Linked DNA regions of Homo sapiens: all the other regions are linked to region 3. The links are contacts of gene promoters, found by promoter capture Hi-C in blood cells and fetal thymus (Javierre and others, 2016). All regions are on one chromosome and are shown on one strand. The core of a region is centred on a gene start or on the middle of the fragment in contact, and the rest is flanking DNA. Distances in the headings are between cores, read along the strand shown. Region 1 overlaps ATG10 (autophagy related 10). Region 2 has its middle 35 kb from the start of ATG10. Region 3 holds the start of ACOT12 (acyl-CoA thioesterase 12). Region 4 overlaps ATG10 (autophagy related 10).

Region 1 (6,235 bases), core at 3,287-5,786, 780 kb after region 3:
TGTGTATTATCATTCCAAGTGATACAGGCACATAGTAGGCACTCAATAAACACTTGTTATATAAATGACCTCAATTTACCATGCTCACTATGTAGGTTACTACTGAAATTATTTTGGCTTCTACTTCTTTTTCAAGTATTCAAGAGATTTTACTGAGCTACACAGCCTCAATGTGACTAATGAAATTTCTAAGCATGTTAAAATTGGTGCGATTGAGTATCTTGGATCTGAAACGAAGGAGTTGTTGATTGAGTATGCTTATGTCTCCTCTGACTGAGGCCAGATGTAAAAAAATAGACTCTCTTAACATGGTTTAAAGTTTCTCATTGAAGATACTTTGAATTGAACATGCAGGCACATAATAATGTGTTTTATGTACTTAACCAAGTATTTATGTCCGTGTTTTAAGTTTTGAGTCTTCAGTTTTCATAAATAAGTGGATATGTACAACATTCTTCAGGTTTCTACTTTGTTTATATGATGCAGTTCTTTATACATATATAAATATCCCAGTTTGTTTCAGTGGGATTTCTCAAGTATCCATTTTGCTTTTGAAATAATTAGTCACGATCATATTTGAATGCATTTTAGATATTAATAATGTATGCCACGATTTTGAAGATATTGCTGATTAAGTTAGATCTTTTGTTTTTGTATGAAAGATCTCAAAAACTAACTTTTGTGTGTCTTTGATGATGAAGGTGTGAACTGTGACTAGGCAAACCAGTGACGAAGGCTTAGGGAACAGAAACCACATCATACCTCATTAAGTCATTGTTGTCATAGAGACAAAGCTATATTTACCCAGACCTTTTACAGTGTAAGTGGTCAGCAGAAACTGGAGAGATTTGCAGAGACACAGAGGAAAAGCAAAATTATATACTTTTGCCAACCATACTCTGATTACTCAACATATTTTGGGAACTGCTGGTTTTGAAACTTCTTCCAGTCCTTGTGGCTAGAAGTTGGAAGATGGTTACTTATTAAAGGTGAATTTGTTTGGCGACAACAAAATCATTTGGAAGCAAATATATGGAATAAAATAAGTATAATTTTTTTTCCTTTGATTTAAACCTATTTGGGACTAGTAAGTAATTAGTTACTTGTCTGGCTCTGAAGGCAGTTCAAAAGTTCAAAGGCAGTTCCATTGACAGAATTACAGCATTGTTGGAATAAATATTGGTTGAATTTGCTGAATAATCAGGTAACCTCCCTAGGTGACTGTTTTGAGGAACAGTGGTCTTTTGAATATTTAAGACCTGATATGCTTGTTTTAAAAACATGTAGTCCCACCAGGCCTAGCATGCCACCAGCAGGGGGTGCCAAACACAGAACTTCAATAGGTGCTAAAGAGACTGCAGTGGCCCTTGAGATAGCCGTTATGGGCCTAGAAGAAGCAGATATTTTAACAATGGTATTATAATTGCTTGTTGACCTTCCTCAGTTTTTTTAAGGGGGTTAGATTTTGGAAGTTGGAGACCATGGTTTGGAGAGGGTATTCATGGAGGTCACGACTGTCTAAGCCATCTCAACCAGTTGCATCATTGTGGATGTATAACAGACTTGCACTGTTATATTACCAATTTTTCCATTGGTTTCCTCATTTGAAGAGTCTACTTTTCAAACAAAGCTCTGGTTACAACAATCAAAAGCAAGCAAGTTGGTTTAGAAAGTTGGGGTGAGAAGAAAATAGTGCTTATTCTGAAGAAAAAGAAATAAAGCTTTGCCAGGCCTCATTGGGATTGCAGCTAAAGGACTCCACTGAGGTAAATACTTTCCTGGCCTCTTGTCTCTGCCCTTCCCTATATAGCCACATTTTTGTAAAGATGGAGTCTCACTTTGTTGCCCAGGCTGGTCTCAAACTCCTGGCTTCAAATAATCCTCCCACCTGGGTCTCCCAAAGTGCTGAGATTACAGGCGTGAGCCACTGTGCCCAGCTGTTGTTGTTGTTTAAGGTGATGAAAATGTTCTAAAATTGATTGAGGTGATGATTGCACAACTCTACGAATATAACTGAATTGTACACTTCACATGGGTGAATTGTATGTACGTGAATTATATCTTGATAAAGTTATGTGTGTTTTTTTTTAGTCATTGGCTTTAAGTGACGAATGTTAGTGATATGCATGTAGTGCTAGTGATCCCCTACCCAGCCCTGGTGGTCTTTCCACTGGTTGGCACCTCTCCCTGGAACGCTGTGCCTCCCAGTGTTTGCACACAAGTTACTTTCTCACTAAAGTCTAAAATTGCAAACCCACCTCTGGCTGGCACTTCTTAGCCTGCTTTACTTTTCGTTTTCACCATAGTATGTATCACCTCCTAAGATAATATACAGTTTACTTGTTTATTGTGTTTATTGTTTATTTTCACACACACACACGCACACACACACACACACACACCCCAAGGCATAATGTAACCTCCATGAAAACAAGGATGATTGTTTTGCTCACTGATGTATCACAAAGGCTTGGAACAGATGCCTGGCATATAGTAGGTGCCCAATTATATAAAACATCTACTTCTAAAATTAACTTCTATCCAAACCATTTACTCCATACTTACATTGTTGCCTGAAATACTTTAAGGAATAAAATTAAAATCATTACTGATTACCAGATATGAAACCCAGCATTCTTCTCTAGGTCTGAAAAGCTTTATGGTAATAGAAATAAAGTTAAGGAAGGCATTTTTTCATCATTTATCATTTGCTCAGTAAATATTTGTAAAGCATTTGCAGTGCCTCTGCCCTCAGAGGCAGCGTGGACCAGCAGGAAGAGCATTGGTGAGTCCTGAGATCTGGATTCAGACTTCAGTTCAGTCATGAACCGGCTGCATACTTTTGGCAGATACATATTTCGTAAGACCTTGGCTGCCCTATTTATAAAATTAGTGGTTATACTAGCTCTAACATTTTATTATCCTACTACAGGTATTTGTTTACTTCTAACTTTGACGTGTAAAAATTATTTTAAAAGCATGTCGTTCTGTAATTTGATTAGTTTACTATTTGACACTAAAGTTCTTAAGATCTTATTTGCCTCTTCCCACACCAATACACACACACACGCATGCGCACACAGACACACGCACACACATACACATATGCATGCATGGCATTTGCATATTTCAAAGATGCATAGTGCTTAAGAGCAGAGTTTGGCCCTACTCTGTAAATGTGTTCAGAAAACAATATAACACAGATACTGAAGGCAGCTTGTTTTTAACTTGTAGCTAAACATGACATTCAAATGTTAATTGGATGAATAAATCTTGTTCATTTTACAGACATGGAAATGTCAATGGAATAAAACTATTTATCACAAGATAATGGTCTCCTGCCGCTAGATAAATGCCAAGATGAAGATACTTATTGAAAATGTATCAAAATATTCTATTGCTATTTATTGAAAATAAAGGTTGAGGAAAAGTTCAACTTTTTAGGTCAAACATGAGAAATGCCCTGCTTATAATATTAGTATGGTACTATATCAAAGATGATATGCACGGTATAGCAACATGGGAAAATTCTAAGAAATAACAGTCTAGAAATGAATCTTTTAGGTTTGAGAATTACTGGAATAATTGTGTGAGGGCTGGGAGGAGATTCCTGATATTTATTGAGCTCTTATTGTGTGCCTAACACAGTCCTGGGTGCATTCACTAATGTAAGCCTCAAAAGAACAATACCCAGAAAGGATCATTATTCTCATTTTGCAGGTAAAGTTAAAAGCAAAATAATTTGCACTCACATGGAGAGTAAGTGCCAACACCAGGATTTAAAACTTAGTCCAGATTCCAAATCTAGTGCTTTTTCCCCCAACATCATACATTTCTACTTATACTTGAAAGTCTTAATACAGTGATTTTTGGAGCTCTTGAGTAGATTATTTTCCTTATGCTTTGTTGCCCTTGATGACCAAATACTTCTTTGGTCTAAATATTCAGTATATTGCTATGTGAAATATCTTTAAGTGATATCATCCATTAGCCCAAAAGAGCACGCCCATAAGTCTTGAGGGCCTTATAGCTCTGAATGGATCAAGTTATATTGGATTCTAGCATTAAGACACCTTCTTTCCAGTAGTGTATGGTTTGAAATCTTTAGGTGACTTCTTCTTTCTGCTTTCTTTTCAGAACTTAGATACCTATTTTTCCACTTTACTTACCTTGTGTATAATGTAAGTGCCATAGTGGTCTTTGTAAAATACATTGTTTGGGTGGATACAGAGGGATAATTGAAACAACTTAAAGAAAAAGAGCATTATTGTTCAATAAAGCTTTTACTGCCCTCTTCATGCCAACCCCGTTCTCTTGTCCTTCCCCACCCCAAGAGTCCCTTTCTCCACCTGCCATAGACACCAAGTGTTAATATCTCTCTTCCTTGGACCATCAGTGAGCTTCAGTCTTCTTCAGGCAGAGACCACTCTACTGTAATATACTTGTCATAGTTTCCTCAGTAGATGTTAGGCTCCTTGTTAGGAGAAATTGCGTGTTTTTCTTCTCTCTATTCTCCATGGTACCTGATGGAGTGATTTGGACATTATAGATACTCCATGAGAATGTGAAAGATGCATGGGTATGGCTTCTTTGTTTTAAGGACTAGAGTAAGTATGAAGGATTCAGAGTATTCATGGTGCACCTTTATGAATATGGGAGTCTGTTGGTTCCTTTGCCTGTGCTTGCATCTGTCAGTTCTCTCTAAAACACATTTGGATTTTATTTATTTTGTAAAATTCCTAGAGGCAATGAATGAGCAGACAATTTAAATGCTAGATGGATACAAAGCTGAGAAGCTTGAATGTTTAAATTTCCCTCAGGAAGAAAATAGTAATTCATATAGCACTCTCTTGATATATAAATAGCATGTGCACTGAAGATCTTTCTAAAAGTCATGATATTCTTCCAGGAGTTTTAGATTGACACCAAGCACCATTGTGTCACATGAATTACTAACTCAGTCTTTACCATGCACTTTCACAGATGGGAGACCTTTAACTCTGAAGGACATATGGGAAGGAGTTCATGAGTGCTATAAGATGCGACTGCTACAGGGACCATGGGACACTATTACGCAACAGGTTGGAGAGTATTGTCATTTTATTGTATGCATGTTATTGTATTCTTTCCCGCTGCTCATCTTTTCTGCTAGTTCCCTCTCCAACTCTTTTCCCTATTTCACTTGTCTATATCTTTACATATTTCACCTCAAAGACAGTTTCCTTAAAAAAAAACCTTCCCAGACCCAGTCTTGGTTTAGCCACCCTATTATAAGCTCTCAGAGTGCCCTATAATTATCCTTTAGAATGCTTATTCCAATTTTAAATTACATATTAGGATGATTTAAAAAAATTGATGTCTGTCTTCTCCACTATACAGATACTCCTTGACTTACAATGGGAATACATCCTGATAAACCCATCGTAAGTTGAAAATATCTGAAGTAGAAAATGCATTTCATACACCTAATCTACTAAACATGAAAGCTTAGCCTAACCTACCTTAAATGTGCTCGGGACACTTACATTAGCCTACAGTTGGACAAAATCATCTAACACAAAGCCTATTTTATAATAAAATATTGAATAGCTTCATGCAATTTATTGAATACTTGACTGAAAGTGAAAAACAGAATGGTTGTATAGGTATCAAAATATGGTTTCTCTTGAAGATGTATCACTTTTGCACCATGATAAAGTCTAAAAATTGTTAAGCTGGACCATCCTAAGTCTGGGACTGTCTGTACTGTGAGCTCTCATATAGGCAGACCATGTCTCTTTTATTCTTCATTGTACATGCAGCACCAAAACAGTACTTATCATGTAGTATGTGCTCAATAAAAATGTATTAAGCAAATGAAAATAGAAACTAAGTTGGCTTATATATTAAGAAATAGATGATTTGGCTTATGTAATCTATACTGTTTTACAGTTTTACTCATAAATACATTTGCAAAAAAGAAGAGCTTTTGATTAATAATATGGTTGCAATAGTGATTTGCAAAAGTAGAGAAAATAGATCTGCAAAAGTAGATATAAAAAGTAGATTTGCAAAAGTAAAGGAAATAGATCTGTCAATCATGTAAGTCATTACTGCCTTGCTAAAATCAGTAGTTATTTTGGAAATTTAAAACTACTCATCACCTTGCAACCAATCATCATCTCCTTAAAAATAATTTTTACTTATATCAAAAATATTATTTTTTCCAAGCTTCTGTTCAGCTAATGAAAGCTTC
Region 2 (6,399 bases), core at 103-2,602, 540 kb after region 3:
GCAGAAAAGGCCTTTGACAAAATTCAACAGCCCTTCATGCTAAAAACTCTCAATAAATTAGGTATTGATGGGACATATCTCAAAATAATAAGAGCTATTTATGACAAACCCACAGCCAATATCATACTGAATGGGCAAAACCTGGACACATTCCCTTTGAAAACTGGCACAAGACAGGGATGCCCTCTCTCACCACTCCTATTTAATATAGTGTTGGAAGTTCTGGCCAGGGCAATCAGGCAGGAGAAAGAAATAAAGCGTATTCAATTAGGAAAAGAGGAAATCAAATTGTCTCTGTTTGCAGATGACATGATTGTATATTTAGAAAACCCCATCGTCTCAGCCCAAAATCTCCTTAAGCTGATAAACAACTTCAGCAAACTTTCAGGACACAAAATCAATGTGTAAAAATCACAAGCATTCTTTTTTTGCTTCTTAAAATTATATGTTTTATCAACCTTTTCTTTTTTTAATAATTTCTCAATTTTAACAATAGAATCTGTATTTTTAAACATCCTTACTATATTATCACATTTTATGTCATAGTCTCTATTAGGTTTTTCTATTATATAATGAAATTCTTAAGGCTGAATCTTACGATTTATTTTTCCGCAGACTCTAATTCATAGTGCATTATTTTCACATATGTTTTGTAAATTTAGATTTTGAGGCTCATTTTCAGAGAAGTTTGATCTACAGAAATCCTGGATAGTCTAGTTCAGGGGTATCTCTTTAGAGAGGTTTTGAATTTTCTTCTTTGAGGTGTCCAAGGGATATCAGTAGCCCAGGATTACTTTTTATGCTGATTTCTCAGTTTGAAGGGCTCCAGGAGTAGAGAGTAGTATAAATTTGAAGTCCATAGTCTGGGAATCAAAGGCCTATGGTTATAGATTTCTGAGGGAGACTTTTTCTATTCAGAACTCAGCCCAAAGTAAACTAGCTTTCTTATCTGGTGAATGGAAGCTTCGTTGACTCTTATTGGCAATATAGCTTTAGGCAGCTCTCTACATAGGCATAAAAACTCAAGCCCTTAGATTGCAAGCCACAGTGCCTTGACTGGTTTCATGTTCTATTTTAGTTTAAATGTCTGCATATTCCCATATTTTTTTGGCAGATAACAATATGATGATAACAACAACAACAATAATAATAAGAGTAGCTAACACTTGTACAGAATATACAGAATGGGCCAGATATTATTCTAAACATTTTAAACTTAATTCTCATATAACCCTCTGTAAGGCATGTAATAATATTTTCCCAACTTTACAGATGGGGAAACTGCCACAGATAAGTTAATTAACTTGCCCAAAGTCCCACAGCTATAAAGTGGCAGACTAGGTAACCAAATCCAGGCATGTGATTCGAAAGTCTATGTTTTAATCATTAAAAAACACTGCCTCTCAATTAGAGCGTTAATTTTTTTCAGCAATTCTTATATTTTCATAGTAATTTTCAGGTTATTTAAACTGCCATATTGCCAGAAAAGGAAATCCTAAATCTTGATCTTACCATTTTATCATACTCTAATTCTAACCTTTCACTTTCCCATCCTATTTTCAAGGGGATGCAGTAAAAATATATGTTTATTACAATGATAAATGACTATTTATATCTGAGTAATACTAAGGGATTCCCAAATAGAAAAATTTATTAAAGAAAATCCTGAATTTTCTAAGATGAGGATTGCTATTTAAACTTAAAGGAAGAGTGGAAGGATATACTAATAAGTGAAATCACTAAAGCTTTGGTAAAAAAATGAGGAGTTGCTGTAGTCCAGTTGCTATCAATGGATAGCCCTCAAAAGGCAGCCTTAGCATACATGAAAACTTGTTAGAGATATACATTATTGGCCTCACCTCAGATCTACTTACTAATTCAGAAACACGGGGGCTGGGGAAGGAGGAAGAGGGGTAGGGGATGTACCCAGAAATTTGTGTTTAACAATTTCTTGAGGTAATTCTGATGCACTGTAATGTTTGAGAACCACTGCTATCATCTATTTAGGATTTAATTTATTGCAAACACCAGTGTCCTTTATAGAGTGGGATGTTGTTTTACATGTGACCACAGTAAGTCTCCATGCATCATAAAGCGTTAACCCTCAAGGTGAAGTTTATTGCTTCTTGGGTGAAAACAGGGATATTAGATTCCCTTTCAACCTCTCCTTCCTGTTATGTTGTAGCATGTAATAGTTCCCTTTAAACATCTGGATGTTAAAAAAGGCATCCTTGCCAGTTAACTTAAAGGGAAAGTGAAAAGTTTGGAAATTAACCCTTCTTTTTTATGAAAAAGAGATAAGAACACCATTACTCTTAATGTCTTTTGCATTTCTATTTAGGAAGCAGTAGTTGAATCTCTGGATTTTTTATAGCAGATCAAAGATACAAGCTTTACGACTTTACTACCATAAGTACTGACTAAAAATAGATTATATACAGGCTGCCTGTAAAGTTTAACAGTATTTTAACTAATTGTCAAGATTGTTTCTCCAGCAGTTATTTCTAATGTCTATGTGTAAAATGTTTTTGATGTTGTTCTCTCGTTTAGCAAACATTTATTTATCACCCTGTGCCAGGCACTGTGCTAGATGCCAAGAATACAACTATGGCCAGGACTGACATGGTTCCTGTTACCACAGAGTTGACAGGTTAGTAGAGAAATAGACAAGAGCACAGGTAATTACAATACAGCATGACAAGTGTTATGATAGGTCAAATAAAGGGCACTATTGGAACTGTTCTCAATAAAAATGCAACATAACTGCTGTCTGAGTGATTTATTGCTCTTGATTATAAAATATGCTTGCAAGATAGAAGCTAACTCCTACTCATCCTTCAGAAGGCAGCTCAAATTGTCATGTACCCATATCCTCCAGTGAATTTTCCTTTCCACCCCACTACCCTGCCCCTTACACTTGAGATTAGGATCCTTTTCATGTGTGTCCATCAAACTTTATCTATTTGTATTACAGTACTTCTCACATGCATTCCAATGATCTATTCAAATGTCTGTCACTCTGCTATACTCTAAACTCTTGGAGGGCAAGGACTCCATCTTATTTGTTTTTGCAATTCTAACATGGTGCTAGCACCAAAACCCATTTATACTCTTTTATGGCATGCTTTGGGTTTGTCTGTTCACTATGGATCACTATTGTATTCTTTATCAGTTTAAATAATGTACTTTTGGCCAGGCACAGTGGCTCACGCCTGTAATCCCAGCACTTTGGGAGGTGGAGGTGGGTGAATCACCCGAAGTCAGGAGTTCAAGACCAGCCTGACCAACATGGAGAAAACCTGTCTCTACTAAAAATACAAAAAATTAGCCGGGCGTGGTGGTGCATGCCTGTAATCCTAGTTACTTGAGAGGCTGAGGCAGGAGAATCGCTTGAACCCAGGAGGCAGAGGTTGCAGTGAGCAGAGATCACGCCATTGCACTCCAGCCTGGGCAACAAGAGCAAAACTCCATCTCAAAAAAAAAAAAAAAAAAAAATATATATATATATATATATATATATATGGATATATAAAATGTTCTTTTTTTAAATTTTTTATTTTTTTTGAGACTGAGTCTCACTCTATTGCCAAGGCTAGAGTGCAGGAGTGCAGTGGCGCGATCTCGGCTCACTGCAACCTCCGCCTCCTGGGTTCAAGTGAACCTCCCGCATCAGCCTTCCAAGGAGCTGGGATTACAAGTGTGCGCCACCACACCCGGCTAATTTTTGTGGTTTTAGTACAGATGGGTTTTCACCATGTTGGCCAGGCTATTCTCGAACTCCTGACCTCAAGTGATTTGCCCGTCTTGGCCCCGCAAAGTGCTGGGATTACAGGTGTGAGCCACTATGCCTGTCCAAAAATGTGCTTTTTTATTGATCTTTTTGCTGCTAGGAACATGAGCTCATCATAACCCCCTTCCCTTAATATGAATACTTATATAGAACATGTGTCTTAATATTACCTTGAAATCAGAATCAGTAGCACTTGTATCTACAGAGAACAAAAAACAAATTTTAAGGGTTGGGGAGGGAATTATGAGAATGTTACCTGGTACAACATCACAACCTCACTTAGTGATTTTTTGACCTGGTTGATGGTCTCTCCATTTTTCTCCCATTCCACCCAAGCCTGTCCTTTGAAAGCAAGAAAACTAACCTAAGCTGCATATGTGGTGAGGTCTAAAATAAGGAAAGTATAAGATGCTATTGGAGTACCTCGCATGACACCTAATCCAGACTGGCTTCTTAGAGGAAGCAACATCTAATGTAAAATATGAGGAGTAAGGGAGAGTTAAGAACACCATTACTCTAGATGAAGAGGAGAAAGGTAGAGGAAGTTTATGCTATTCTGGTAGCTTTTACCTGATACCCAAAGTAAAAATTTAATTTTAGTTTATGGTTCATTTTACACACACACACACACACACATACACACACACACACACACACACACACACACACAGTCTTATATTTCCAAAATAATTATTCTCCAGACCTTTACTAAAAATGATACACCTTTGTGATTTTCTATCTTTTTCTATGTCATTTTTTTTTTTTTTTTGAGATGGAGTCTTGCTCTTTCGCCCAGGCTGGAATGCAGTGGCGCGATCTCCACTCAGTGCAAGCTCCTCCTCCCAGGTTCATGCCATTCTCCTGCCTCAGCCTCCCGAGTAGCTGGGACTACAGGTGCTCACCACCATGCCTCGTGGATAGTTTTTCGTATTTTTAGTAGAGATGGGGTTTCGCCATGTTAGCCAGGATGGTCTCGATCTCCTGACCTCATGATCCACCCACCTAGGCCTCCCAAAGTGCTGGAATTACAGGTGTGAGCCACCACGCCGAGCCCTATTACCATTTTTAAAAAATGTTTGTTGGGTTTACAAGGAGAAAGCCACAAGAAAATGTTACTCCTAATCTAACAGTAGGAAAAAGCCGGCTGGGCACGGTGGCTAACGCCTGTAATCCCAACATTTTGGGAGGCTGAGGCAGGTGGGTCACGAGGTCAGGAGTTTGAGACCAGCCTGGTCAACATGGTGAAACCCCATGTCTACTAAAAATACAAAAATTAGCCAGGAGTGGTGGCTCAGGCCTGTAATCCCAGCTACTCGGGAGGCTGAGGCAGGAGAATCTCTTGAACCCAGGAGGGGGAGGTTGCAGTGACCCGAGATCCCGCCACTGCACTCCAGCCTGGGTGACAGAGGGACACTCCGTCTCAAAAAAAAAAAAAAAAAAGCCATATAATCTACAAAATCATGATTTTTTTTTAGCTTATCAGAGAACTGAGCTATGAAGACAATCGGTTGAATTGAATTACAAAGTGTGACAAGCCTCTCTGATGGGAGATGAGACACACAAACTGTTTTATCATCTTTTTATCCAAACTAAAGAGGGGTGAATCATAAAAGTGGGTAATAAGAAAACAAGTTAAATTTTAACAAATTATTAAAGGACAAGTTAAGAATATCTGGATGCTCCAGACATGAGAGGAATCTGCAACTCCTGGCCAGCCAGTTTCTTTTTTTTTTTTTTTTTTTGAGGCGGAACCTCACTCTGTCGCCCAGGCTAAAGTGCAGTGGTGCAATCTTGGCTCACTGCAACCTCTGCCTCCTGGGTTCAAGCAATTCTTCTGCCTTAACCCCCCGAGTAGCTGGGACTACAGGCATGTACCACCACAGCTGGCTAATTTTTGTATTTTTTTTAGTAGAGATGGGGTTTCACCATGTTGGCCAGGCTGGTCTTGAACTCCTGATCCACCTGCCTCCACCTCCCAAAGTGCTAGGATTACAGGTGTGAGCCACCACGGCTGGCCTATAAGGCCAGCCACTTTCTATGAGTCTACTCTGGATGCCCACAATAAAGACTGGATGAGGAAAGCACAAGCAAACAGATGTGAAAGAGTCCCCTTGAGAAGCACAGGTATGTAAGCACTGCCAATGTTTGAGGATGCAGTAAGGGTACCAGGAGAAATGCATCCATGCTTTGGCCCCAGCATGATTATAAAGCAGTGATCAGCTGCTGACAGGTTACGGGAATGGACCCTACTTGTGCTGGAGTGAAACCGCCTTTGCAAACATGACAGTGAGAGAAATCTAACATGTCTAACATGGCTGACTCCCATCTTGCTTCTAGCCTCACAGGCTGGCTGTCTTTTCTCATTCATAGGGTATAGGCCAGCTAACCATGGGAAGAATTTAGTTTATAGTTTAACTTTGAAGCAAGGATTATAATAGTCCCTCCCTAAAACTGCCCCCCAACCCCATCCTTGTTTGGTGGCTGAAATTGCCTTTGTAAATCAAATGAAAGGCCACAGGATTAGGATTATGGGAGGGGCCTGAATTCTGCCAAAATGTAGGAATGGTTTCTAAAATCCCTTACTGCTTAGAAGTCATGTGGCCAGAGGT
Region 3 (6,603 bases), core at 3,087-5,586:
ATTACAGGTGTGAGCCACCAGGCCCAGCCTGTATTAGTTTTTCTTGATGTTCTATGACCTTGAATCTGTAATTGTATGTCTTTCACCATATTTGGAACTCTAATTATGTTTATGTTTTATTTTTCCACAAATCTCTGACACTTTATTTTATTTATGTATTTTTTTTTTTTTTTTTGAGACAGGGTCTTGCTCTGTTACCCAGGCTGGAGTACAGTGGTGCAATCATGGCTCACTGCAGCCTCGACCTCCCAGGCTCAAGTCATCCTCACACCTCAGCCTCCTGAGTAGCTGGGACTACAGGTACATGCTACCATGCCTGGCTAATTTTAACATTTTCTTTTTTTGGTAGAGACAGGATCTCTCTATGTTGCCCAGGCTGGTCTCAAGTTCCTGGGCTCAAACCATCCTCCTACCTGAGCCTCCCAAAGTGCTAGGATTATAGGCATGAGCCATTGTACCTGGCCACACTTTATTTTTAAAATTCATTTTTTTCTGTTCTTAGATTGGATAATTTATATTGATGTATTTTTGCATTTACTAACTCTTTTCTCAGCCATGTCCATTCTGCTGTTAAGCCTAGCCATTGAGTTTGTTATTTTAGACACTGTATTTTTCAGTTCTGGAATTACCATTTGGCTTTTAAAAAATAGTTTCTATTACTCTGCAGAAATGTACTGTCTTTTCAATCTTTTTCTTCTTTTTCTTTTTCTTTTGAGATGGAGTCTCATTCTCAAATGAGACTCCAGCACTGGCTGGAGTGCAGTGGTACAATCTCGGCTCACTGCAATCTCCACCTCCCAGATTCAAGTGATTCTCCTGCCTCAGCCTCCTGTGTAGCTGGGATTAAAAGCACCTGCCACAACACCCGGCTAATTTTTGTATTTTTAGTAGACAGGGTTTCATCATGTTGACCAGGCTGGTCTTGAACTCCTGACCTCAAGTGATCCACCTGCCTCAGCCTCCCAAAGTGCTGGGATTACAGCAATCTTTATTATCATATTTTTAATTATATTATTGAGCACAGTTATACTAGCTGCTTTAAAATCCTTGAAGCTTAATTCCAGCATCAGGGTTGTCTAGGGATGAATCTCCATTGATCATCTTTTCTCTTAAGAATAAATCATGTTTCCCTCTGTATTTCAAGTAATTTTGGATAATATCCTAGCCATTGTGAGTGATCCATTGTAGAAACTGTGTTTCTCTGAAAAGTGTTGGTTTTGTTTTTGGTTTTGTTTTTTAAAGCAAGCAGTTAACCTGACCAAACCAAAACTATAATCTGTCTACCTAGAGATGGGCACAACTATTTTCAGTTCTTTTGGCCTCAACCAGGAGGTTTGGAGTCTGTCCTATGTATACATGATTCAAGATTTGCCAGATATCTGGGAAAAGATTATAGATAGATTTTAGGGCTCTGTCTCTCTGGCTCTTTCCTTTCTGGAACTTTCCCTTTTGTATTTCATTCAGTAGCTGTGCTTTTCCCAAACCCTGTCTTTGGGCTCTTCAAACCAGCAAGCCTGTGGGTTTTCCATCAGAACTATAGCTGGGAGCAGACTGGCATTTTCTTTCAGGCTTCAAGTCATTTATAAAACAAACACAGAAAAAGCCAACACCACTTTGTTCTTTCATGTGTTAACTTTCAAGTGTTATAAGCCTACTTTTGTTCACTTTTCACCTGCCTTAAGTCTCTTTTATTTAGTGTTTTGCCCAGAGTTTATAATTATTATCTGTGGGAGATTTTTTAGTAGGAAGCACTTGAACATCTTAGAAAAATCCTTAAAGCCCTTGGTGAAGAAAAGAAAGGGAAAAATGAACAAAACATATGACATGATCAATCAGATTAGCATCTTCAAAGATTACTTTAGAAGCAGTGTGGAGAGGAGACCAGAACGAATGGAGATGAGTTTGGAAATCACTGCTGAAGTCTGCATGAAACATGATGATAGCTTGGAGTAGATGGTCGCAATGGGGGTGCAGCAAAGTGCTTGGATTTCAGAGACTCCTTTAGGGGGTAACACTGATAGGACTTGCTCCATGCATAGAGTATGTGAAGTGAGAAGTAAGGTGGAGAGAGAAATATCAAGGATGACTCCTAGACTTTTGACTTGCTCAACTAGATGAGTTGGGTGCCACTCCAGAGATAGTAAACCCTGGAAAAGATTCACAAATAAAAAACCGTGTGTGTGAGATGTTCCAAAATAATACATGGACGTGTGAGATAGAGGATTACTCAGATAGCTTCAAGACTTTAGACTTAAGGGACTGGAAAAATAATGGGGCCACTGACAGAAGTAAGGATAGTGAGAATATTTCATCTTTCTTTAAATATTGAGAAGACATTTTGGAATCCAGCAGTGCCTAGGGGTCATAGAAATGCCTTGGGGGCCATGACTGGGATTGCAGTAATGTGGCTAAAGAGATAATGCTGGCCTATAAAAAACTCTGAGAAAATCCCAGAGAAATCAGTTTTATATTACTACACAGATTCAGTTACACCTTGGCTAAATAATGTCCCCTGCTTATGTGGTGCCTCAGGTCACCATAAAGTGTTTAACACAGGCGTTATTCATGTTGCCCAAACCAACTTTATCATACAGGTTTTCTTAATATTAGTAACATTATCAGTTATTAATATTATACTACTAATAGTAATGTAACTATTAAGGTATAGAGTAATTGATTGTCAATTGGATCTTTCCATGGTTTCCAAAGATGTCAGGTCATAGAAATGATGACAATTGCAGGTGGGCCATTGTTTCTCCATCACAAGACAGAGGCACTAAGCAAGGTAACTAAAAGTCACTTCAGTGGTCTCATAATGTATTCAGTTGCCTTGGAAACAGGCATCATTATTATTAGCAACCTCAGTGGTTTATGTATTATTCTTTTTTCCTATGTGTGGATTAATTTTGTATTCATGTTTCCATTGTTAATATAACCAATCTCAAATCCTGTTAAAAAAAAAAAAGGCTTAAACGAATCATTGATTTCTCACAATTGTGGAGGCAGGGAAGTTCCAAATCGAGGTGCTTGCCCATTGTAGGTCCTAGTGAGGGCTCTCTTCCTGGCCTGTGGATGGCTGTCTTCCTGCTGTGGCCTCACATGGCAGAGAGAAGCTCTCCAGTGTCTCTTCTTATAAGGACATTAATTGTATGGGACCAGGATTCCACTCTTATGACCTCATTAGCCTTAATTCTTCACTCCAAATAGAGTCACACCAGGGGTTAGGACTTCAGTGTATAAATTTCGGTGGGTGGTGTGGGGGATATAATTCAGTCCTTAATAAATGTTTTTGCCATTTTTACTGTCATTCTGTCACAAGAACACAGTGGAGTTTTCCAGAGACTACATAAGGGTGTGGTAGCAGCAGGGTGAATGCAGAAGCAGGTATGAGTAGTCAGCAATCCTCCACTAGCCAGACCTTAGAGAGACTCGCCAGGATGTAACCTTTATCACCACTCCTCTCGCTACACTTTTGTTCTTGTGGAAAATAGTTATTTCTTAATTAAAAATGTTATGCTAACAATGTAGTCCATTTCTTTTTTAAAAATAATTAAAAATTTTAAATTTCCATTACGGTAAATGTGATATAAATAGCCTACATAAACAAAAGCTGCCTGGGTGCGGTGGCTCATGCCTGTAATCCCAACACTTTGGGAGGCTGGGGCCTCCCAACACTTCAGGATCACTTGAGTCCAGGCGTTTGAGACCAGCCTGGGCAACATAGTGAGACCCCATCTCTACAAAAGCAAAACAAAACAAAACTCCCAAAGTCAGCTGGGCCTGGTGGCGTGCGTCTGTGGTCCTAGTTACTCTGGAGGCTGAGGTGGGAGGATCGCTTTAGCTCAGGAGGTCGAGGCTGCAGCGACCTCTGATGGCGCCACCGCTCTCCAGCCCGGGAGAGAGCTCAACAACAACAACAACAAACAAACAAACAAAAAACCCCGCAGAAGCTCTCTGGGCTCCTCACTTGTTTAATGGAATGAAGGAGTCCCGAGAGCCACACATTTGGGAACCACCGGTCTCGGCCATGCCCAGCGCGGGCGCACTGTTGCAACACCCCTATCCCTGGCTGCGCAGGGTTCAGCTCTCCGCAAGTACCTTCCTCGCCTTCCTACCCCCCCCAGCCCCCAGCCGCCGCCGCTCCCGCAGCCCCGGTCCCGCGCCTCCCCGCAGCCCCGGCGCCCGCCTACCCGCCAGGCAGGCGGTGGTGTCGATCCACTTGAGCAGCTGCCCCGCGCTCAGCTCGCCGCGCGCAGTGGCGTGCGCCGGCTGGATGGCTTGGCTCATGACCACCTCGCCGGGCGCCGGCCGCTCCATGGCCAGGGCGAGAGCGCTACGCCTGCGGCCCCCGACACCCCACCATGCCCGCTCCGCCCGCCCCGCCCTCCCCGCCCAGCTCCAGAGGGCACTGGCGCCGCCCGCCCGGGCCGCGAACCCCTGGCCGCCAGGTGGTGGGAGCTGCGAGTGAGGGGGCCCGCACTGTCATCCCAGGACTATCGCGAGTGGGGGAAAACCAGCGCTCTCGGGTCTCAGGAGAAGTCTGGGAAGTGCGCGGGGAGGGGGCTCCCGGGTAGACAGGTCTGGAAGGCGGCTCCCCGAGAGCCGGAGCGCGAGGAACAGCTTTTGAGATAAAAAAGCTGTTACACTTTCTAGAGCTGCTATCAGTGACTGTACAAAGCAGTCCTCATTAGGGAAACAGTGTCTCCAGAAAACCTCCAGCATCTAATGGATTGGTGGATGTCTGACTGTCAGGGGAGGCTGCTCCAGGGAGCACATTTACGATGGAGAACTGGAAACCCGGAGAAGTGGAGCAAGCAGCTGAGGTGATAGGAGCCGATAAGCGACCCGATCACCTGGCTGGAACCCAGGGCTCCTGACTGTCCGGAATAGCACGAAGAAGCCTAGCCGACTCTCACGAATTGGTGGTGCCTTTTCATCCTTATATTTTTGGCTTGCCAAGCCTCAGCATGGCGACATCAGAATGGAGATTCTGGTATTTTTCTTTCCTTTTTAAAAGATTTTTTTTAAAATGAAAGTGAAGAAATAAGGAAATGTTGACTTGATAGCTTTTAGGAGCCTCTGTGTATAGGTTTCAGGACAATCCAATCATAAATAGGAATTGCATGTTTTCACTGAGGCAAGCATGAAGTCTGACTTATATAAAAGGCATTAAAATAACTTTTAAAAGCAAACAAAAACTTGTGCATCCAAGATGGTCCCATTATGTAGCTATACACTTATTTCAATGATAACGTTATTACATCGCTTTTGGCACTCCTCCTTGGAAAATGCCTTTTTAATGACTTCTGTATTGAGAAATCATAATTTAGGAATTGATAGATTATCATATATTCACTCCATCTACCAATAACTCTGTGAGAGTCATTTATTGACCTTGGACTTGGCCATGTGGCTTGCTTAAGAATGGAATGTGGAGAGATAGCAGTGTACCACCAGTCTTGCCTTTAGAAGCACCGTGTTTCTGTTCTCAGGAACATCTGACCTCTGCCATGAGGTCAAGTAGCTGCCTATTAGCATCTGGGTACCAGACTGAATTCACGTATTGCAGAGGCATCTCAGCCAGCCGGAGGACTCACAGCCTGAAGCAGAGCAACCCAGCAGACATGAAGACTCTTGAGTGAGACATAACTACTTATTGTTGTGTGCCACTGTGATTTTGGGGGTTGTCTGTTATGCAGCAATAGCTGACAGTTACATGAGTGAACTGTATTAATATTTGGGAAGTTTATTAAATTACTGGAAATAAAGTTTGCATTTAGGCTGGGTTGTATTATTTTGGGTAAAAAGTGGTGACTAAAGTGGTGATATTGAATTATGTGTATGGTTGTATACTTGGTTTCTTATAAACTAAAGAAACTTAGGCCAGGCGCAGTGGCTCATGCCTATAATCCCAGCACTTTGGGAGGCTGAGGTTAGGTAAATTGCTTGAGCTCAGGAGTTCAAGACCAGCCTGAGCAACATGGTGAAACCCTCTCTCTACCAAAAATACAAGAATTAGTTGGGCGTGGTGGTGTGTCCCTGTGGTCCCAGCTACTCAGGAGGCTGAGGCAGGAGGATCACTTGAGCCAAAAAGGCAGAGGTTGCAGTGAGCTTGAGTCTCAAAAAAAAAAAAAAAAAAAAAGAAAAAGAAGAAGAAATTTCAAAAATGTTTACGCATAAGTGTAAGAGGATGGGTTTCCAAAATGATTTTCTTGAAGGGGACAGCATGTGTATATTTGTGTGTTTGTCTAGAGATGTTGCTTTAAAAGCAGACATGGTACACAAATTCACTGCTGTGTTTTCTTATCTTTATTATCTCCTGTTTAGATGTCTTCAGATTATGGTTTCATATCTTTTGTTGGTTTCATACTAATTTTCATTTTACTATTCTTGTGTTTTTCTGAATGGTCCCTTTCTTCCTTTTACAATGAAAATGTCATCTGCATGCATGAACATTTGTTACCTCCATTTCTCTCTGGTGTCAAAGATTTTTACTATTATGCTTGAATAAAAGGTCGAGTTTCATTTGTGTTTAGAGACATTTTTGAAGATAAGCAGAATGTGAAGCCAGCTTGATTTTAAAAGTTTGTACACAGGAGCAGG
Region 4 (7,066 bases), core at 3,703-6,202, 760 kb after region 3:
TAGTCTGCTATAGAGGCACAAGAATGCTTTTACATGAATGCAATAAAGTAGCAGATGTTTCTTAATGACAACTTCTCAATTCATTTAGGAAACAAGTCAGTTCTGGAGTTGTTTTTTTTTTTTTCTTTCCCAAGTGTGTCAACTATGCAGGCTAATGATTCCAAAGAGGTTAGAACTGACAAATCAAGTCACTACGTATAATTTTTCAGGGTGCTGCAAGTTAGGCTAAAAGTCTCATTTAATAGCACTTTAATAAAATTAGCATTTTTCTTCCCATGCAAATAATTCTTTGCCATTATAAGTAACCAGGAAAATACATTAATTCAGTATTACCAGCCTAAGCTTCTTTTATTTTCTTCTTTGGAAACTTCTGTTGAATGTTGATTTATCATTAACATTGCAAATAGAAAAAGTAGTCCAATGCCCAGGCTTGGGAACAGGGAGACATGAGGGTCCAGCATTTGGAAGTCAAACATAGCTCCTTCCAGGAATAATTTCTGTCACCTCAGAGAAAGCGATCGTGAGGCACTGGTGATATCCATATCCCCCTTCACACAGTCGTCCACAGGGCTGGCCTTTCCTCAGTACAGTAGGCAATTACCCACAGGCTGTGTTCCAAAGGGTGCCAGAGAAGCCATTGTCACTGCCCCACAGACTGCAGGCTCTGTAACAGAAACTGCATGATCAGTGACTCATTAAGATTTCCATGTTCAGAGAACCTCTTCCTAAAAGCCAAAGAATCTTAGTAGGATTAATATATCCAGATTGTAACATTTAGTATTGGTAAGTTCATCAGGTGGCCTGTGAATTTCAGATCAGAGGGCTGGATTTAAGAGCTTTGTGCTGAAAGAGGAGAGCAAGGCCATGAAAAGCAAGATGTGGAAGATGCCAAGGATCAATTTTGCCTTCATAATTTTGTTTAATAATGGTCTTGGTCACCAGCATAGAGTCTTTAAAGTGAATGCATGCCCCCAGAGGGCTTGCAAAACAATCCATTGAGATGTGAGAAATAACATTACAACTATAATTTATATTTACTTTGATTTTGTGAAAGTTAGGCTCTACTAATATTTAACTTTTTGAAAATTTTAATATAATTTTTATTTTAAGAGAGATGAGGTCCTGCTATATTGCCTAGGCTGGTCTTGAACTCCTGGCTTTAAGCAATCTTCCCTCCTCAGACTCCCAAAGTGCTGGTATTACAGACATGAGTCACTGTGCCCAGCTACTACTAATATTTAAATGTGGATTGATGCTGGCATTGCCACTCTATGCATTTATCAGATAACCAGATGCCATAGAGGTTAATTATGCAAGGCATCTGGGACCTAGACGATAGGAAGGAGCTATCAGTGATGTTTTCACTCCTTTCATTGCATGTTATGCATTGCAGTTTACCTGTGCCCTGGATATCTGGGATGATATTATTCAATTTTAGTTAACATAGCTCTTACTTTTCAGACTAAGGGCTTTAAAAGTTTCCTGCAAAGAATCCCTGGAACAAAAAAAAAAAAAAAATGGTAAAAGGTAAAAACAACAGTCTAATCAGATCTTTCAAAAATTGGCTCTCCAAATTTAAAATTAAGATTATTTGAAATATGGATTTATATTTGCTATTATTAATGATGACCCTTAACCTGTGTGTATGTTGTACCTAATGACAGTATGAAGCAATCATTGACTAACGACTCATTGAAAGGCATCCAGAACTTGAATAAAACCTCTTACAGCTAGAGAAGGGGATTGAAATATGAGATCATGATTTACTAAGTACACCCAGTGATATACTTCCTCTTTATGGATCTGTAGATCTTTCTCATCTGTTGCAGCCATTAAAATCACCTATCAAAACAATGTAAAAAGACCTGAACCCAGATGTTTGAAATGCCATATTACAGTCAAGATTTAAAACACACAAAGAAGAACAAAAAATTACATATTCAATCAAATTGCTCTCATCAAAATACTACTGGCAAGAAAATGTCTGCACCATTACTAAATAAAATAAGTTTAGTTTTCTGTAGCATTTTATTTTCTGAATAGATTTACATATTTGGAACCCAGGGCTCTTTGACTTGGTGCAGATTAGGACAGGGTTCTTTATGAAGAGAAAGGAAATTACCTCTGGCTCTTTAGAGTCTACTTTGAATTAAGGCTGCCGCCCCAGGACTACTGAGCATATGGGATCTAGACATTTGATTTTTGGGTGTCTGATCATCCACGACTGTGAGCAGGACTGGCTGGCTGCTCAGCAGCACTGACTCTGAAGCGTGGAGTCCTGGGAAAACCAGGTAACAGTGTGCTCATTTGCCTGCTATTTACATCTGTCACATTTTGAGGTGCTAACTTTTCAATGGGCACCTTAAAATCAACATTTCTGCAACTTTATTCAATCACAACCACTGGCGCAGAAATCTAAGAGCCAAATAGGCAAGAAGCTCAATGAAGGGTGAGGGTAGAGGGCCAGCCAAGGCCTTTTGGTGCCTGAGCAAAGAGCTGGGTAGGAGGGCTACTTTCATTAGTACCCAGATCATCACCCAACTAAAAGAATGACCTTGAAATATTTTTCCTTCACCTTTGTCTTATCCTTAAAATTTTTATATTTTAGTGTATTTTATAATATACAAAATATATCATATAGAAATACATATTCATAATTGATCAAGAGGTAAATATACACATATTAGGGTTGAGTGCTTAACTTTTTTGACTCCTAGTGTCATGATAAAAAAAGTTTAGAGATCTCTGATTTATAGGATGAAAATGGCAACAGACAATTTATACTCATTCCACTTATTTATTTCACTTAACAAATATTGATTGAATGTCTACTATTTGCCAGGTACAGTTCAGGATGCTTGGAATACGTAAGTGAATAAGACAGGCAAAAGCCCTGCCTTCACTCACATTCAAAGGGATATGTGTGCTGTAATAGAAGCCTTTCCAAGTCTGCCAACTGGATAAGGCCTCAAGATGTATTCTTATATTCTTATAGCACTTGCAACATTATACTCAAATAATTGTTTATGCAATGTTTTTTTCTCCCACGCTCTCTGTAGTTATAAGTTCCTTGAGAGCAAACACCATATCTGTTTGCCAACAAATCTCCAGTGCTGGCACCATGCCTAGCTCATAGTAGATGCTCAGTGAACGTTAGTTAGTTGAATGTATATGTGTGCTGTCCATGCATATACAAGTGGGCACACATGTATAAGTGAGTTATTTGTAAAGCTGAGAAAAAAACTTGTGGGGCATTCTCAAGCAGAAACTATTGCTGGGGGCAACAGAAAGTGTAGGCAGACACTTTTTAGTGGGCTGCAGCAAGAGTTTATCGGGAAGAAGCTTGGATAATCAGAGGTGACAGGGGTGACAGATTCTAAGTGATTAGGCAATCTGGTAAACTTGGACAAAAACAGTTCCTGAAAATCTATCTGGGTGGGTGTTGTGATCATTGAACTAAAATAAGCCTTGGTTAAGGGTGATTAGGATACTAAAATGATCAGTGCTACATAAAACTGGTTTACACTTGAATGAAGCTGAAAAAGAAAAATTAAAATCTCACAAACAAAATTCATAGATTTGGAGGTAAAATTTTATGTACTTGGGGACTCTGTGCATTTTCTCTAATAGTATTTGTTGTAATTATAATTTTATAGCTCTTTGTGTGATTATTTTTTAATGTATTTCCTTATATTAGGACATAATATCTATTATTGTTATCTCTTCTATTCCCAGGCCCCAGGACAGTGTCTAGAGCAGACGATGGCAACTGTGGCCTGCTGCCTATTTTTTTTTTTTTTTTCTCTTTAGAGACAGGGTGTCACTCTGTTACCCAGGCTGGAGTGCAGTGTGCAACCTTGAACTCCTGGGCTCAAGCAATCCTCCTGCCTCAGCCTCCCAAAGCGCTGGGATTGCAGACATGAGCCACAGCACCTAGCCTGCTGTGTATTTCTGTACAGCTCACAAGCTAAGAATGGTTTTTATATTTTTATATGGTTAAAAAAAGAATTTAAAAAGAATAATATTCTATGACATTAAAATAATATGAAATTTAAATTTTAGTGTTCATTAATGATGCACTATTGGAACAAACCCACACTCATTAATTTACATATTATCTAGGCTGTTTTCATGCTGCAGTGGCAAAGTTGAGTGGTTTTGACAGAGACTTATGATGCCCAAAGCCTGAAATATTTACTATCTGGCTCTTTAAGAAAATGTTTGGACACCTTTGATCTAGAATATTTAGTGTATCCTATAACATTTTTTGAATGAATGTATGATTAATTAGTATACCTATGTGCCAGATATACACATTTTATACATTATCTCATTTAATCACAAGGGAAAGATGCCTTTATTTAACAAGTGAAGAAACTGAGGCATAGAGGGGTCAAATGACCTGTCCATTCCATGAGTGGCAGAGCCAGGGATTGAACCCACATCTAGCTCCAAATTCTGTGCTTTTTTATTTTTGCCTATATTATGCTTCTCTGAAGTCTATGTGTTTTTATCCGAGATTTTGAGTGTCTCCTTGAATCCCAATAGAAAGCTGAGAGCTTAATGTTGCTCTCATTACTGCTGAAATATTATAGTATTATTTAAAAGCAACAACCACATCTTTGTCCCAGCACAAGCATAGTGCCTGGCACGTCATAGATACTTGTGGAAATCTTAAAGGGATTCTCCTGGTAAAAACCAAGCAAAGAAACAAATAAATCCTTATTCATATCCATATAATCCAGAGACAGTTTTGAGCAAGGGAAGGAACTCATGGCTTACTGAAACAGTTCCTTGCTGATTCCTAGACATGCTGTTTCTTGTGCATGTGTGAGAGGGCCTGTGCTTTAGGATTCACAGTCCTCTAACATTCCTACAATGCTTGCCTCTTGGTCTGTTTATGAAGGCTTTATCATTTTCACTCTTTGGCAGAGAAATTTACTCAGTTCTGAATTTGAGTGTAGAAGTTTATTCATGTGCTGAAGGAACTTGCAGTTTATTCATCAAGACATTTAAAAATCTCACTTGTTTAAATTAGGGTAGTGCTATCTCTTACTTTAGAAAATGACTTTAGCCAAACTTCAGCCCATTGGATTTAATTATCATTGTCCTTTTAAGGCTCAGAATTTCTTAGACCCTTGGAAATGTAATGTAACATCCTAAGACAGGAAAAAAATGGAAAGGGGAAAGAGTTCACCAAATGGAGATACAAGTCCTTTAATAAAATTCTGTTTAGTGCTTGTAAAAATATAATAAAATGAAATTAAAGAAGGCCTTAAAATTAGGATTTTCAGGGGTAGGCAAACTAAGGTCTATGGACTACAGCTTGTTTTTGTAAATAAAATGTCACTGGAGTACAGCCACGTACCTTTGTTTACATGTTGCCAGTGGCTGCTTTCAGGCTGCAGCTGCAGAGACCTATGGCCCACACAGAAGCCTAAAATATTTACTACTTGGCCCTTTAGAAAAATGTTTGGAGATCTGTGGAACTAGAGATATAAGAAAAATTAGAGAAACTGGGCTTATTCAATATGGGGAACAAATAAATTTATTCATATTATATAAAAATAATGACTCTTTGTTCTTAATCTTCTGCAAGGATAAATCTAGTGGAAACTGATTTACTTTCTAGCAAGGTAACAAGGAAGAATTTTCTGGCTCTGGAGTTAAAACATAGACTGCCTTATAAGGCAAGTTTCACAGATTGGTGGTTACATGTGTGGTGCAAAATTTATTCCTTTTTGGCACTCCAAATTCCATTATTAAAGATTCCTTTTGATTAGGGTTATCAGCCACAAATCTACTGTTGAATATAATAATTGATAAAGGAGTAACATATTAAGCCACTAATGGCCATTAATAGTTTAGCAAGAATTAACTAACCAATTAGAAGGAAAAGGACAAAATGAAGGAAATTTTTATATAGGAGAAGATGAAGGAATGGGGCAATAAACTGGGAGTGGGGGGTGATAAGCTGAGGTCTTAGGTTAATGGAAGTGCATTTAGGCTCCCTCCGAGAGGAGACCAAATGAAGTAACGGTGGTTCTCAAAACATAGATGAGCAGCTAGTGAAGGCAAACCGGTTTATGGCATAATTCTGGGTCTTGGTGAATGAGTTTCCTGACTTTATAATTCCATAGACTACAAAAGTAAAGAATCACAAAGTAGACCCTCCATGTGTATGTGAGGCAAGACCTGCATAGCATCACCAGGAACACTGCTTATAAGGTGAAGTCTTAAAACCCATCCCAGAACTCCTGGATTAGAATTTTGGGGGTGGAGGCCAGGAATACGTCTGTTTAACATTTCTCACCACCAAGAATCTGATGGTCTTTGCAGGCTAGAAAGAACCCTGGACTTGGAGCCTGAAGGCTTAGTTTTGTGCCCTGGCTCAGTTTCTTACTTGCTGGAGACCTTGGGCCTTCCTCCTAGAGCAGAGGAACAAATTACATGATGTACATCAATAGGCTTAGAAAAACTGTAAACTGTTAGAGTTGATGCTGGCCTTTCTTATGTCACATGTAAAGGGTAACACTGAAGAGAAACACACTTGACCGACTTCTGAAGCTTGATAATTTTTCAAGAGGTCAAAATTTTCCCCTCTTCCTCTAGTTTGTCATGTTTTACATAAAGAATTTCTGATTTTCAAATCCATTATTCTGCTAATTCTTTTACTTTTAGATGTATAGAAATAAGTGATAAGTGCGATTAAGCATTATTACTATTTCCTCCTGCCAAAGAACCTGTGTTTTGTAGCATGGACTCTAAGAGATAGCCTCTTCCACAGTTCCACCTTTTACTTGGCGTGTTTGCTGGCTTCCCAGCTCCAGGCACTAGCTGTCTTGCTGTTTCCTATGCAGTCTTAAAAGAAACAGGGTCTAGGAAGCACAGTGGAGCCAGCTGTAAACATCCAGAAAACTGCCAGATGTGCTGTGGCGGGTTTCTGCATCCCCTCCCTCCTGCCTCGCCCTTGAGCATGCCTGCCTGGAGAAGAGGTTTTAATCCTGCACAGGAAACAGATTCTTCCTCTCAGTGGGAACCCACGTTGGCCATGCTGTTGCTAATT

The links. The method cuts DNA at HindIII sites, captures the fragments that hold promoters and counts their contacts. A CHiCAGO score of 5 or more calls a contact.
Region 1: a contact is called between a fragment that was not itself captured here and the fragment with the promoter of ACOT12 in region 3, in 8 of 17 cell types (total CD8 T cells, naive CD4 T cells, total CD4 T cells and 5 more). The highest score is 9.1, in total CD8 T cells.
Region 2: a contact is called between a fragment that was not itself captured here and the fragment with the promoter of ACOT12 in region 3, in 1 of 17 cell types (erythroblasts). The highest score is 5.6, in erythroblasts.
Region 4: a contact is called between a fragment that was not itself captured here and the fragment with the promoter of ACOT12 in region 3, in 5 of 17 cell types (non-activated CD4 T cells, M2 macrophages, naive B cells and 2 more). The highest score is 6.7, in non-activated CD4 T cells.

What each region holds. Positions count from the first base shown.
Region 1 is chr5:82,173,507-82,179,741 of GRCh38, forward strand. ATG10 (autophagy related 10) reads left to right here. Exons shown (of 8, transcript NM_031482.5): 5 at 4,984-5,081. Among named protein-coding and RNA genes, the nearest start is that of RPS23, 100 kb to the right of the region's middle. The HindIII fragment of the contact is 516 bases long and covers 4,279-4,794 here.
Region 2 is chr5:81,934,157-81,940,555 of GRCh38, forward strand. No RefSeq gene overlaps it. Among named protein-coding and RNA genes, the nearest start is that of ATG10, 35 kb to the right of the region's middle. The HindIII fragment of the contact is 782 bases long and covers 962-1,743 here.
Region 3 is chr5:81,389,798-81,396,400 of GRCh38, forward strand. It overlaps ACOT12 (acyl-CoA thioesterase 12), which reads right to left and starts at 4,337. Exons shown (of 15, transcript NM_130767.3): 1 at 4,191-4,337. The coding sequence starts at 4,317. The HindIII fragment of the contact is 6,480 bases long and covers 1,052-6,603 here.
Region 4 is chr5:82,150,125-82,157,190 of GRCh38, forward strand. The region is part of intron 3 of ATG10 (autophagy related 10); the gene reads left to right. Among named protein-coding and RNA genes, the nearest start is that of RPS23, 120 kb to the right of the region's middle. The HindIII fragment of the contact is 3,225 bases long and covers 3,341-6,565 here.